Linked DNA regions of Homo sapiens: region 1 is linked to region 2. The links are contacts of gene promoters, found by promoter capture Hi-C in blood cells and fetal thymus (Javierre and others, 2016). All regions are on one chromosome and are shown on one strand. The core of a region is centred on a gene start or on the middle of the fragment in contact, and the rest is flanking DNA. Distances in the headings are between cores, read along the strand shown. Region 1 overlaps PSMA3 (proteasome 20S subunit alpha 3). Region 2 holds the start of SEC23A (SEC23 homolog A, COPII component).

Evidence for each region. The method cuts DNA at HindIII sites, captures the fragments that hold promoters and counts their contacts. A CHiCAGO score of 5 or more calls a contact.
Region 1: a fragment that was not itself captured here is called in contact with the fragment with the promoter of SEC23A in region 2 in 1 of 17 cell types (monocytes); the score reaches 8.6 in monocytes.

What each region holds. Positions count from the first base shown.
Region 1 is chr14:58,253,294-58,259,810 of GRCh38, forward strand. It overlaps PSMA3 (proteasome 20S subunit alpha 3), which reads left to right. Exons shown (of 11, transcript NM_002788.4): 4 at 4,452-4,553; 5 at 4,632-4,705. Among named protein-coding and RNA genes, the nearest start is that of PSMA3, 12 kb to the left of the region's middle. The HindIII fragment of the contact is 2,420 bases long and covers 2,088-4,507 here.
Region 2 is chr14:39,100,342-39,106,829 of GRCh38, forward strand. SEC23A (SEC23 homolog A, COPII component) reads right to left here and starts at 2,894. Exons shown (of 20, transcript NM_006364.4): 1 at 2,691-2,894. It overlaps SEC23A-AS1 (SEC23A antisense RNA 1), which reads left to right and starts at 2,799. Exons shown (of 2, transcript NR_146545.1): 1 at 2,799-3,030; 2 at 3,204-3,471. RefSeq lists silencers at 2,500-2,579, 2,600-2,719, 2,880-3,109. The HindIII fragment of the contact is 19,881 bases long and covers 1-6,488 here.

The DNA.
Region 1 (6,517 bases), core at 2,048-4,547, about 19 Mb after region 2:
CCATTTTCACAGGTGAAAAAACAGATGCACAGCAAGTAAAGAAAAGCTGGGATTCAAACTTGGGTCTGCATGTTACTCAAGAGCCCTTTCTAAATGAAAAGACACCTTATATGACCCACATCGTTCAGCTGATAGCTTTCTTATATCTAAATGAGATTTAATGTTACACACAAACACAAAAAGTACTGGTAAAGTATAACCAGTAAACCATAAAGCTAATTTTTTTCTTCTTCAAAGATTATTTTATCTCAACAATATGTTTCTCCTGAACAGATTTTTTTATTTTGCTGCAAATGACAGGATTTTATTTTATTTTTTGAGATGGAGTCTCACTCTGTCATCCAGGAAGGAGTGCAATGGCGCGATCTCAGCTCACTGCAACCTCTGCCTCCCGGGTTCAAGCAATTCTCCTGCCTCAGACTCTCAAGTAGCTGGGATTACAGACATACGCCGCCACACCCAGCTAATTTTTGTATTTTTAGTAGAGACGGGGTTTCACCATGTTGGTCAGGCTGGTCTCGGACTCCTGAACTCCAGTGATCTACCCGCCTTGGCCTCCCAAAGTGCTGGGATTATAGGCGTGAGCCAGCGTGCCCAGCCTAGCATTTTATTCTTTTTAAAGGATGAATAGTATTCCATTGTGTATATATACATTTTCTTTTTACTGTTTTTTTGTTGTTGTTGTTGTACAGATTTTTCTCGTCACCCAGGTACTAAGCCTAGGACCCAATAGTTATTTTTTCTGATCCTCTTCCTCCTCCCACCCTCCACCCTCAAGTAGGCCCCATTGTCTGTTGTTCCTGTCTTTGTATCCATGAATTCTCATCATTTAGCTTCCACTTATAAGAGAGAACATGTGGTTTTTGGTTTTCTCTTCTTGTATTAGTTTGCTAAGAATAATGCTGAACAGATTTATTATTGCCAGTGAAACTGATATGTTTTGATGAAACTTGCTACATTGTAACCTAGCTAGTAGGAGGTGATCTTGTATTCTTTTATGTACTAGCAAAAGTTAATATTTTGAAAAAAATTATGCATGCATATATATATGTATGTACACACACACAGAGGTCTTGCTCTGTTGCCCAGGCTTGAGTGCAGTGGCATGATCATAGCTCACTGCAGCCTTGCGCTCCTGGGCTCAAGTGATTCTTCTGCCTCAGCCTCCCAAATAGCTGTGACTACAAGTGTGCCATCACACCTGGCTAATTTTTTAGTTTTTTTAAGAGATATGATCTTGCTGTGTTGCTCAGGCTGGTCTTGAACTCCTGGGCTCAAGCGATCCTCCCGCCTCAGCTTCTTGAGTTGCTGAGATTACAGGCATGAGCCAATGTGCCCTGTCAACATTAGACATTGAAGAGGGCTGGAGAAAATTAAGACTTAATATCCTCCCTCCTTCCACAGTTGTCATCTTCAAGTGATTTGAGAATTATATGACTTTACAGTAAGCTTTCTCTAAAGCAACAGAAGATTCTTTAAGTGATGTAACTTACTGGCATGGGTTACCTTGGGGAAGCTATTCTAAACACGCGTTTCCTTGTCTGCAAAACAAGAGTGATAATAGTACTTGGCACATACAGTTGTTGTGAGGTTAAAAATTATTATGCAAAATGCTTAACATGTAATGAGTGCTCAGTATCTCTTAGTAATTATCATTATTACTATTACTGGGTAGCGTAGGAAAAAAAGGCTATTAAAGATTGTGATACCACTTTTAAATTCTGTAACTGTCCTGGGCTAGAGGGTTTCAAAAACTTGGTTGGTTTATGGTACCTTAAGTGTCTCAGTAGTTTTTCTCATGGCTTCCCTAGGCCGAAAATACCTAATGGTTTCATTTATTAAGTATTTAGATCCAAAGAACTTAGTGTTTACATCCTAAAAACTTAGTAGCCGTTTTTTTTTTTTAAATACACACATAGTGAAAAATATTTTTATTTAAAAATTAAAATGTTTTATTTTAAGCAACCAAAATTTCTAGTATATACACTGCACAACCTCCCAAATTTGGATGTGGCCACTGTCATTTCCTGTTCCACACTGATTTTTGCACAGTACTTACTTTTTTTCACAGCAACCACTAACAGCCAAGCTTCTCAAAGATGTGGTGGCATTGAAAGGAATGTAGTAAAACGATCTAATGTTCAAACGGAACTACTTGGACATTTTTCTCCAAACTTAGAATGTGCCACACTAGGCCAGGTGCAGTGGCTCACACCTGTAATCCCAGCACTTTCGGAGGCCAAGGCGGGCGGATCACCTGAGGTCGAAAGTTCAAGACCAGCCTGACCAACATGGAGAAACCCTGTCTCTACTAAAAACACAAAAATTAGCCGGGCGTGGTGGCGCATGCCTGTACTCCCAGCTACTCGGGAGGCTGAGGCAGGAGAATCCCTTGAACCTGGGAGGTGGAGGTTGCGGTGAGCCGCGATTGCACCACTGTGCTCTAGCCTGGGCAACAAGAGCAAAACTCCATCTCAAAAAAAAAGATATGCCACACTAACATGTGATTTCACTGCAGTGCCTGAGGACCTCTCGGCACATACATAGTAACTGCAATTCTGTTTTTGTTTTTGTTTTTGTTTTGAGACAAAGTCTCATTCTGTTGCTCAGGCTGGAGTGTAGTGGCGTGATCTCGGCTCACTGCAGCCTCCGCCTCCCGAGTTCAAGTGATTCTTGTGGCTCAGCCTTGGGAGTAGGTAGGATTATAGGTGCCCGCCACCAAACCTGACTAATTTTTGTATTTTTAGTAGGGGTTTCACCATGTTGTCCAGGCTGGTTTCAAACTCCTGACCTCAGGTGATCCCCCTGCCTCGGCCTCCCAAAGTGCTGGGATCACAGGCATGAGCCACCGTGCCCGGCCTAGTAACTGCAGTTCTAAGCCGCAAATCTTGAAAGAGGAATGGTTTATCATTGTAGTTTATTCAGCCAATAGGCTGAAAAAAGATTTGCGATTGTGCCTTTTAGAACAAAACAGTTACAGGTTGAGTATCTCTCGTCTAAAATGCTTGGGACCAGCAGTATATCGGATATTTTTCGATTTTGGAATATCTGCATTATATACTCATCAGCTGAGCATCCTTAATCTGAAAATTCAAAATCCAAAAAGCTCTACTGAGCATTTCCTTTTTTTTTTTTTTTTGAGATGGAGTCTCGCTCTGTTGCCCAGGATGGAGTGCAGTGGCGCGATCTCGGCTCACTGCAACTTCCGCCTCCCAGGTTCAAGCAATTCTCTGCCTCGGCCTCCCAAGTAACTGGGATTACAGGTGCCTGCAACCACGCCTGGCTAATTTTTGTATTTTTAGTAGAGACGGCATTTCACCATCTTGGCCAGGCTGGTCTTGAACTCGTGACCTTGTGATCCACCTGCCTCAGCCTCCCAAAGTGCTGGGATTACAGGTGTGAGCCACCAGGTCCGGCCTGAGCATTTCCTTTGAGTGTCATGTTGGCACTCAAAAAGTTTCAGATTCTGAAGCGTTTTAAATTTCAGATTTTTGGATTAGATATCCTCAACCTGTAATAACTTTAGAGAAAAGAACAAATTTGGGCCGGGCACGGCGGCTCACACCCATAATCCCAACATTTTGGGAGGCTGAGGCAGGCTGATCACCTGAGGTCAGGAGTTCAAGACCAGCCTGGCCAACATGACAAAACCAAACCCTGTCTCTACTAAAAATATAAAAATTAGCCAATCCCAGCTACTGGGGAGGCTGAGGCAGGAGAATCCCTTGAACCTGAGAGGCAAAGGTTGAAGTGAGCCCAGATGGTGCCATTGTGCTCCAGCCTAGGTGACACAGTGAGACTCTGTCTCAAAAAAAAAAAAAAAAAAAAATCTGACCAAGACCCATGGTTTTTATTCGTTATAATGAGGTAGTGGTAGTAAATCAGGGGAAGAGGATTTATGATAGAAGTAGTCCTGAATATTGGCCGGGCACGGTGGCTCACGCCTGTAATCCCAGCACTTTAGGAGGCTGAGGCAGGCAGATCACGAGGTCAGGAGATCAAGACCGTCCTGGCTGACATGGTGAAACCCCATCTCTACTAAAAATACAAAAAAATTAGCCGGGCGTGGTGGCAGGCGCCTGTAGTCCCAGCTACTCAGGAGGCTGAGGCAGGAGAATGGCATGAACCCAGGAGGCAGAGTGTGAAGTGAGCGGAGATCATGCCACTGTACTCCAGCCCTGGTGACAGAGCGAGACCCCGTATCAAAAAAAAAAAAGGAAATGTCCTGAATATGAACATTGGACAAAGCAATGAAGTTATACTTACTAAATTTCTAAATTATAATTTCATACTCAAGCATCAAAATGCCTTGTAGAGAGACCTTTAAGCCAAAAAAGTTTATTTTGAATGGTAATACTTGTTAAAAAAATGTTTAATAAGTCTTTATTAATTGCAGACTTTGATTTGTGATAGGAATGTGTTCCTCTAGTAAATTGGTGCTTTTTTTTCAGGCAGTAGCAGGTTTGTTGGCAGATGCTCGTTCTTTAGCAGACATAGCAAGAGAAGAAGCTTCCAACTTCAGATCTAACTTTGGCTACAACATTCCACTAAAAGTAAGTTGATAACATATTGAGGAACCTTTTGGACAGTAATAGAAGTTTATTAATAAGCTCTTCTGCTTCCCTCCATAGCATCTTGCAGACAGAGTGGCCATGTATGTGCATGCATATACACTCTACAGTGCTGTTAGACCTTTTGGCTGCAGGTAAGAAATTTTGTGAATTATTCAAAAGGCAGATCTGTACTATAGATATTTATTATGTTCCCCAGCATCTTAGCCTTTTACATACTTAAAAATAGAAACTCGTCGATAAGTATTAGGGCAATGATTAAATAAAACAGTGTACATAGAAACTACTTGAGGCTGGGTGCCATGGCTCAAGCCTGTAATCCCAGTACTTTGGGAGGTTGAGGTGGGAGGATCCCTCGCGCCCAGGAGTATGAGACCAGCCTGGCCAACGCAGTGAGAACCTATCTCTACAAAAAAAATTTAAAATTTAGCCAGGTGCAGTATCACATGCCTGTAGTCACAGCTACTTAGGAGCTGCTTGAGAGGATCATTTGAGCCCAGGAGTTGAAGGCTGGAATGAGCTGTGGCCATACCACTGTACTCTAGCTGGCGCAATAGAGACTCTGCCTCTTTAAAAAAAAAAAAAAAAAAAAAAAAAAGGTTTCAATAGTGAAAAGGACTATATAGATCTGAAGTGATTATAAAACAAGGAACTGATAACAATGACTTTAATCTGATTATAATAAGCTCTCGGTGTTAGTCCCTGATATTCTTAGGTAATTTTAAAAATTACGTCTCACAATTCCCATTAGGCACGGTTTCTCTTTCTGTTGAAGTGCTGATATTTTATTGTGGGGTAAAGTGGAGATTCAGCTGCATAAAGACCTGGAATAGGTATAAATATTCAAATTTGGCTTCACAGAGAAGACTTGTGACTAGATTTTTCTAAAATGAAAAGACATGTTTGGCTTATGACTTAAAACAGTCAAACATGTTTGGTCAAAATAATACATATACTAACATCTGAGTGCTCAGCTGTAGTCCTACCTTTGAGTTGTTTATCATCAGTCATATTTAATTACTAAGATATTAAAGAAAACTTGAGTTTTATTCTATTGGTAATATTACATTAGGGTTTTGTTTTTACTTTTTGAGACAGTTACTGTCACCTGAGCTGGAGTGCAGTGGTGCCATCATGGCTGACTGCAGCTTTGACCTGGCTCAAGCGATGCTCCTACCTCAGCCTCCCAAGTAGCTGGGACCACAGGCATGGGCCACCATGCCTGGCTAATTAACAAAATTTTTTTTTGTAGAGACGGGGTCTCACCATGCTGCCCAGGCTGACATTAGTCATTCTTAAGCTTCTCAGTTAAATTACATTATGAAACACTTTGTTTTCAGACCATGTAAAATACCTTTCAACTGAGCTCTGAGTTCATCAGTTAACTTCTCTACTCTTTTTAAGGGAGTAAGAATAGTAGAGATAACTTTTTTTCATAACTTTTTTTTTGTTTGTTTTGTTTTGTTTTGAGATGGAGTCTCGCTCTGTCGCCCAGGCTGGAATGCAGTGGCACGATCTCAGGTCACTGCAACCTCTGCCTCCCGGGTTCAAGCTATTCTCCTGCCTCAACCTCCTGAGTAGCAGGGATTACAAGCACCTGCCACCACGCCCGGCTAATTTTTTTATTTTTAGTACAGTCAGGGTTTCGCCATGTTGGCCAGGCTGGTCTCAAACTCCTGACCTCAAGTGATCCACCTCAGCCTCCCAAAGTGCTGGGATTACAGGCGTGAGCCACCGCACTGGGCCAGAGAGAACTTTTTTAGTAAACATCTATTGGGCACTGAGTTAGTCATAAATGTGGAGACACAGGTGTGAAGTCACATTGATAAAATATTAGTGATATGATAAAGGGACAACAATTAGGGAACGGACTCTTTCTGGACAGGAGGCAAGGAAGAGTGTGAGATGTAGGGAGACTTGGTAGTTGCAAGCACAGGAACTGGTAT
Region 2 (6,488 bases), core at 1,644-4,143:
CAAAATTTGCCAGGCTTAGTCCCATGTCCGACAATGGCATATCTGAAATAAAGTCCTTTTACAAGCCAACTTAACTTTTTTTTTTTTTTTGAGACGGAGTTTCGCTCGTTGCCCAGGCTGGAGTGCAATGGCGTGATCTCGGCTCACCGCAAACTCCTCCTCCCGGATTCAAGCAATTCTCCCGCCTCAGCCTCCTGAGTAGCTGGGATTACGGGCATAAGCCACCACACCTGGCTAATTTTTGTATTTTTAGTAGAGATGGGGTTTCTCCATGTTGGTCAGGCTGGTCTCGAACTCCCAACCTCAGGTGATCCACCCACCTCAGCCTCCCAAAGTGCTGGGATTACAGGTGTGAGCCACCATGCCCAGCCACAAACTAGCTTTTCATAACATGATATTATTTGATAAGCACTCTCTCCCCTAATACTAACATGTTTGCATAAAAGTATTAAACCAAAGAAATATTATTCCACACACTATATTAGAATGCAGACTTAGCATATTAGTCTCTTTTTTTTTTGAGATGGAGTCTCACTCTATCACCCAGGTTGGAGTGCAGTGGTGCAATCTCGGCTCACTGCAACCTCCACCTCCCGGGTTCAGGCGATTCTCCCGCCTCAGCCTCCCCAGTAGCTGGGATTACAGGCGTGAGCTACTACACCCAGCTAATTTTTGTATTTTTAGTAGAGATGGGGTTTCACCACGTTGGCCAGGCTGGTCTCGAACTCCTGACCTCAGGTGATTGGCCTGCCTCGGCCTCCCAAAGTGCTGGGATTACAGGCGTAAACTGCCGCACCCAGCCACTAGTCTTTATTTTTTTTAAAAAGTGATACAAAACACAAAAGACTATTACAAAGAAATGTCCAATTTCAGTACAATATACTTTGGTTAAATAATTTATCATAATAGAGCTAAAAGCTAAGAAGCAAACCACTATGTCACTTTAACCTAGTATATCAAATATGTGCCCAAGTCTTTTAAAAGTAAGACTTCCCTGGCCGGGCGCGGTGGCTCACACCTGTAATCCCAGCACTTTTGGAGGCCGAGGAGGGTGGATCATGAGGTCAGGAGATCGAGACCAGCCTGGCCAATATGGTTAAACCCCGTCTCTACTGAAAATACAAAAATTAGCCAGGCATGGTGGCGGTCGCCTGTAGTCCCAGCTACTCAGGCGGCTGAGACAGGAGAATAGCTTAGCTTGTACCTGGGAGGCGGAGGTTGCAGTGAGCCGAAATCGTTCCACTGCACTCCAGCCTGGGTGACAGAGCGAGACTCCGTCTCAAAAAAAAAAAAAACAAAAAAGACTTTCCCTATGATAGTTTTTCAATATTCTAATTTTAAGCCCTTTTATTCATATCTAATTGAAAATGTACTTGCCAAGTAAATTTGAGTTCCTTCCAATTACATGTATTTGTTAGTTGCCAATTAAATTTGTCTCCTACTTTTCACTTCCAAAATCCTCAATGAATTGTCTTCTTATGATCTTGGACAATTAACCTCTCTGAATCCTGTTTTTCTCATCAGCAAAATAAGAGACTTGGACTAGAAAATCACAAGGTCCCATCTAACTCTAAAATTCTGTAAGTCAATTAAAAATAGCTGGACTCTGGCCGGGCGCAGTGGCTCATGCCTGTGATCCCAGCACTTTGGGAGGCCGAGGCGGGCGGATCACCTGAGGTCAGGAGTTCGAGACCAGCCTGGCCAACATGGTGAAACCCCGTCTCTACTAAAGATACAAAAATTAGCCGGGCATAGTAGCTCGCCCCTGTAATCCCAGCTACTCGGGAGGCTGAAGCAGGAGAATCGCTTGAACCAGGGAGGCGGAGGTTGCAGTGAGCCGAGATTGCGCCACTGCACTCCAGCCTGGGCGACAAAGCAAGACTCCGTCTCAGAAAAAAAAAAAATAGCTGGACTTCTGAAATGATGTTCATTCACTACCAGAGGAGAAAGAGAAGGAAAACTCAACATGCATTTATATTTAAATCTAAAACCTTTTTAAACCAAGTTAATTTGGCTAGTTATCCATGGCTTTGGACGGTAGAGGTTGAGGGAGTTCAAGTGAAAACGAGAATTCCACATCCCCACTTCAGTGATTGATGTAGATTTACTATGACCTTCCTCAGGCAGTACCTTTACCACCAAATCGGGAAACACTACCTACCGTAGAAAGAAAGCCCAGTGAGATAGGGCTGGTCCTGCTGGAAAACTGAACTCTTTGTAATCAAAACCCAAGGCATTATCTTTACCAAGCTCTTTTCCCCTTTAACCCCTTTAACTTCCAAGGCTGAATTACGGTGACGTAGTCAATTGGGTTCAAAGTCTAGGACACTCCATATCTGGCAAGGAATGAAACAGTAAGTCCAAGGGCCCAGAGGCGATGATGGACTTGGGTGGAGGTGGGTGGCCCAGGAGGTGGGGGTGGGTGCTGGGCGAGATGCTCGAACCACCGTTTTCCACATCTTTCCACCTAATCCAGGGGAGCTGGAGGAGGCCGGGCCCCCGGCCCCGGCAGAGCGAAGTGGGTGAGAGGGTGGCAAGCTCAGCACTCAACGCTCCCCGCGCCGGACCGGGCCTCAGCCTCCAGCACACCTCGCTGGCCCCGGGGCACCGAGAGGGCAGAGCCGGGACCACCCCAGGATCCCAGCCCCCAGCCCGCCGCCGCCAGCCCGCCCCCGCTCCCCGCTGCGCACCTGCGGTCCCCCAGGAGCGGAGACGAGGCGGCCCTTTCCTCACTGTCCCCCTGCAGGACCCGTCGCAGCCTCCGCTTTGCAAAATCTGTCCTCTCCGCCCAGCAGGAGCAGTCCGTGGCACCGCAATCAGGGGTGGCGCCACCCCGCCCCGGGCCTCAGCGAAGACCTCCGCCCGGCCAACATGGCTGGCGCCGCCTCTGCCACGTCAAGAGGAGGGGACGGGGCGTGAGGGCAGGAAGGGGGCAGGAAGGGGCGGGCGCAGAGTTACCAGGGCAGGCCACCGGACCCCTGAGCTTGCTTAATAACCGGAGGATTTGAGAAAGGCGCGCGGCGGGCGAAGGTACCGAGAGGGGAGGAGGGAGGAGAGGTAGCGGGGACCGAGCCAGAGGGGCGGAAGAACCCGGAAGACCCAGGCAGCCGGACGGCCGAGGGGCGTGGGACCGGGCAGAGCGGGACCGGGAGAGAGCGCCTTTCCCAGCTCCCTAAAGCCACAGCGTATCCCACTCCCTGCAGGTCGCAGAAAGAGTGGAGAACTGGTGCCACTCGGACACCTTAGCTCACCGAGAGAAATGGAGACGGCCTCCAGGACATCTTAGGACCCTGGTTGATTCCGAGAATCACAAATCACATCTCTGAAAAAAGTGAAAAGTTCATTCTTTCACTTAGTGCAACAAATGTTTACTGAAACTTACTATGTGCCAGACACAATTGAGATGCTGGTAATATGATGCAGGCAAAGTAGGCCCAGATCCCTGGCCCGAAAGAATTCACGTACTATTTATGTATTTTAGTCAGCCTGTCTTTTCCTCCTACATTGCCTCTGCCACTTCAACTCTGTCTCCCCCCACCCCCAAAACACACACACAGTACAATATTTGGCTGATTCATCTTGATATGTTCAATGTTTTTCTTTCCAAGAAAAAAGTTGAACAAAATGAGAAAGCAACAGATTGGTAAGACATTAGAGCTTGGTGGTCTCAGACAACCCCTTCCTTCAGTGAGGGGAATGAAATTAAGTGCCCATGGAATTAATTGCATATATGACAACGCCTAAAAGCCTGCAAAGTTTAGCCATATCAACATTTTATGGAATGGAAAAAAAGATCAAGTCCCTGTCCTTGAAAGCTCATATTCATGAGAAATAAGACAGCAGCACCAGGCTGGGCGCGGTGGCTCACGCCTGTAATCCCAACACTTTGGGAGGCGGAGGCAGGCGGATCACAAGGTAAGGAGTTCGAGACCAGCCTGGCCAACATAGTGAAACACCGTCTCTACTAAAAATACAAAAATTAGCCGGGTGTGGTGGCACGCTCCTGTAGTCCCAGCTACTCGGGAGGATGAGGCAGAAGAATTGCTTGAACCCGGGAGGCGGAGGTTGCAGTGAGCCGAGACCACGCCATTGCACTCCAGCCTGGGTGACAGAGTGAGACTGTCTCAAAAAAAAAAGCACCAAACATATTTCCCTTTCTATAATGTGTGTACTAAAGTTGTTTTGGAAGGTGGAAGAGGATGTTTGCTTGTCAAATTGTAATACAATCCTGAAGAGGGCAATGGGAATCGAAAGCCAAAAATTAGTGTAGGCTTCCAAATAAAGTAGGTTCAAGGTGCTACCTTAATGAAGATTCTTAACAGCACACAGCAGAGGTGTTGTTATAAAGGTGGAATAAGTACACCCACCAAAAGCGACAAGATCTAAGAATGAGTAGGATAAAAAGATCTTAGTCCATTTAGGCTGCTAACACAAATGCCCTCAACTGGGTAGCTCATAAACAACAGAAATTTATTTCTGACTGTCCTGGAGGCTGAGAAGTCCAGGATCAAGATGCCAGCAGATTTGGTGTCCGGTGAGGACCTGCTTTCTGATTCATAGATGGTGCCTTCTTTGTTCTCACATGGCAGAAGGGGCTGGCTAGCTCTCTGGGGTCTCTTTTACAAGGGTACTAATCCCATTCATGAGAGGCCAGCCCTCATGACCTGTTCACCTCCCAAAGGCCCTACCTCCCTATACCATCACCTTAGCAGTTAAGATTTCAACCTATGAGTTTGGTAGGACACAAATATTCAGACCATAGCAACATTGATGAGAAGATCCACAGAAATCCTGGAATCCAGCGAGGAATAAATCAAAGCATAGTACCTTTGGTAGATTCATTCATTTCATGGTTCCCAGAAAGGCATCTTTACCATCCAGCTCAATGAAGTCTTTTCAAAAACTCATCATTCCTGGCCAGGCACAGTGGCTCACGCCGGTAATCCCAGCACTTTGGGAGGCCGAGGTGGGCAGATCACGAGGTCAGGAGATCAAGACCATCCTGGCTAACATGGTGAAACCCTGTCTCTACTAAAAATACAAAAAATTAGCCAGACATAGTTGCGGGCGCCTGTAGAGCCAGCTACTCGGGAGGCTGAGGCAGGAGAAATGCGTGAACCCAGGAGGTGGAGCCTGCAGTGAGCAGAGATCGCCCCACTGCACTCCAGCCTGGGCGACAGACCGAGATTCCATCTCAAAAAAAAAACAAAAAAAAATTCATCATTCCTTTGTTTTCAGTTGATCAAAGGTTTTAATTCCCTATTACAATGAAATAGATGTTAGGATGCATAACAAACTCAGTTGCATCTGTCTTTATGTGCTTTAAGATGAATGACTTTAAGTCCAGGCGCAGCGGTTCACACCTGTAATCCCAGCACTTTGGGAGGCTGAGGCAGGTGGATCACAAGGTTAGGAGTTCAAGACCAGCCTGGCCAAGATGTTGACACCCCATTTCTACTAAAAATACAAAAATTAGCCAGGCGCAGTGGCAGGCGCCTGTAATCCCAGCTACTCAGGAGGCTGAGGCAGGAGAATCACTTGAATCCAGGAGGCAAAGGTTGCAGTGAGCCGAGATCACGCCACTGCACTCCAGCCTGGGCAACCGAGCGAGACTCCGTTTCAAAAAAAAAAAAAATGATGAATGGCTTTAATCCTTGGATATACTATCAGGATCAGGATCTACTGGACCCAACTTTAGCCTTTCAGGGTTGTTTTTTTGTTTTTGGGCTCTACTCTTAAGGATTGATATTTCATGATTTTTTGTTCCTTCGTAGAAGTCTTCCAAACAACAAAGAGAAAATTTATTTTCTAAAAAAATAGATGTGGTGACTCACACCTGTAATCCTAGCAGTTTGGGAAGCTGAAGGGGGAGGATCCCTTGAGCCCAGGAGTTCAAGACCACCCTGGAAAATATGGTGAAACCCCATCTGTACCAAAAATATAGAAAAATTAGCAGAGCGTGGTAGTGTGTGACTTTAATCCCAGCTACTCAGGAGGCTGAGGTGGGAGAGTAACCTCAACCCAGGGAGGTCAAGGCAGCAGTGAGCCGTGATGGTGCCATTACATGACTGTGCCACTGCCTGGGCGATAGAGTGAGATTCTGTCTCAAAAATAAAATACATAAAATTAAAAAATAGAATAAAACTCATTCTATTTACAATTCCCATATAGATCCATTGGACCCTTATACATCTAGGACACATAGTGGGATTTACTAATTTTTTTTTTTGTATGTTGAAACGTTCTGCTACTTCATCATCCATAGAATTATTTCATCCTTACTGATCAATTATTCCAAGCTATGCTTTAAAAAAGATGAAAGTCAGGCTGGCGCAGTGGCTCACGCCTATAATTCCAGGGATGTCACCGTGTTGGCCAGGCTAGTCTTGAATTCCTGGCCTCAAGTGATCCGACCACCTCAGCCTCCCAAAGTGCTGGGATTACAAGCGTGAGCCACCGCACCTGGCCCTTTTTTTCTTTTTTTTTTT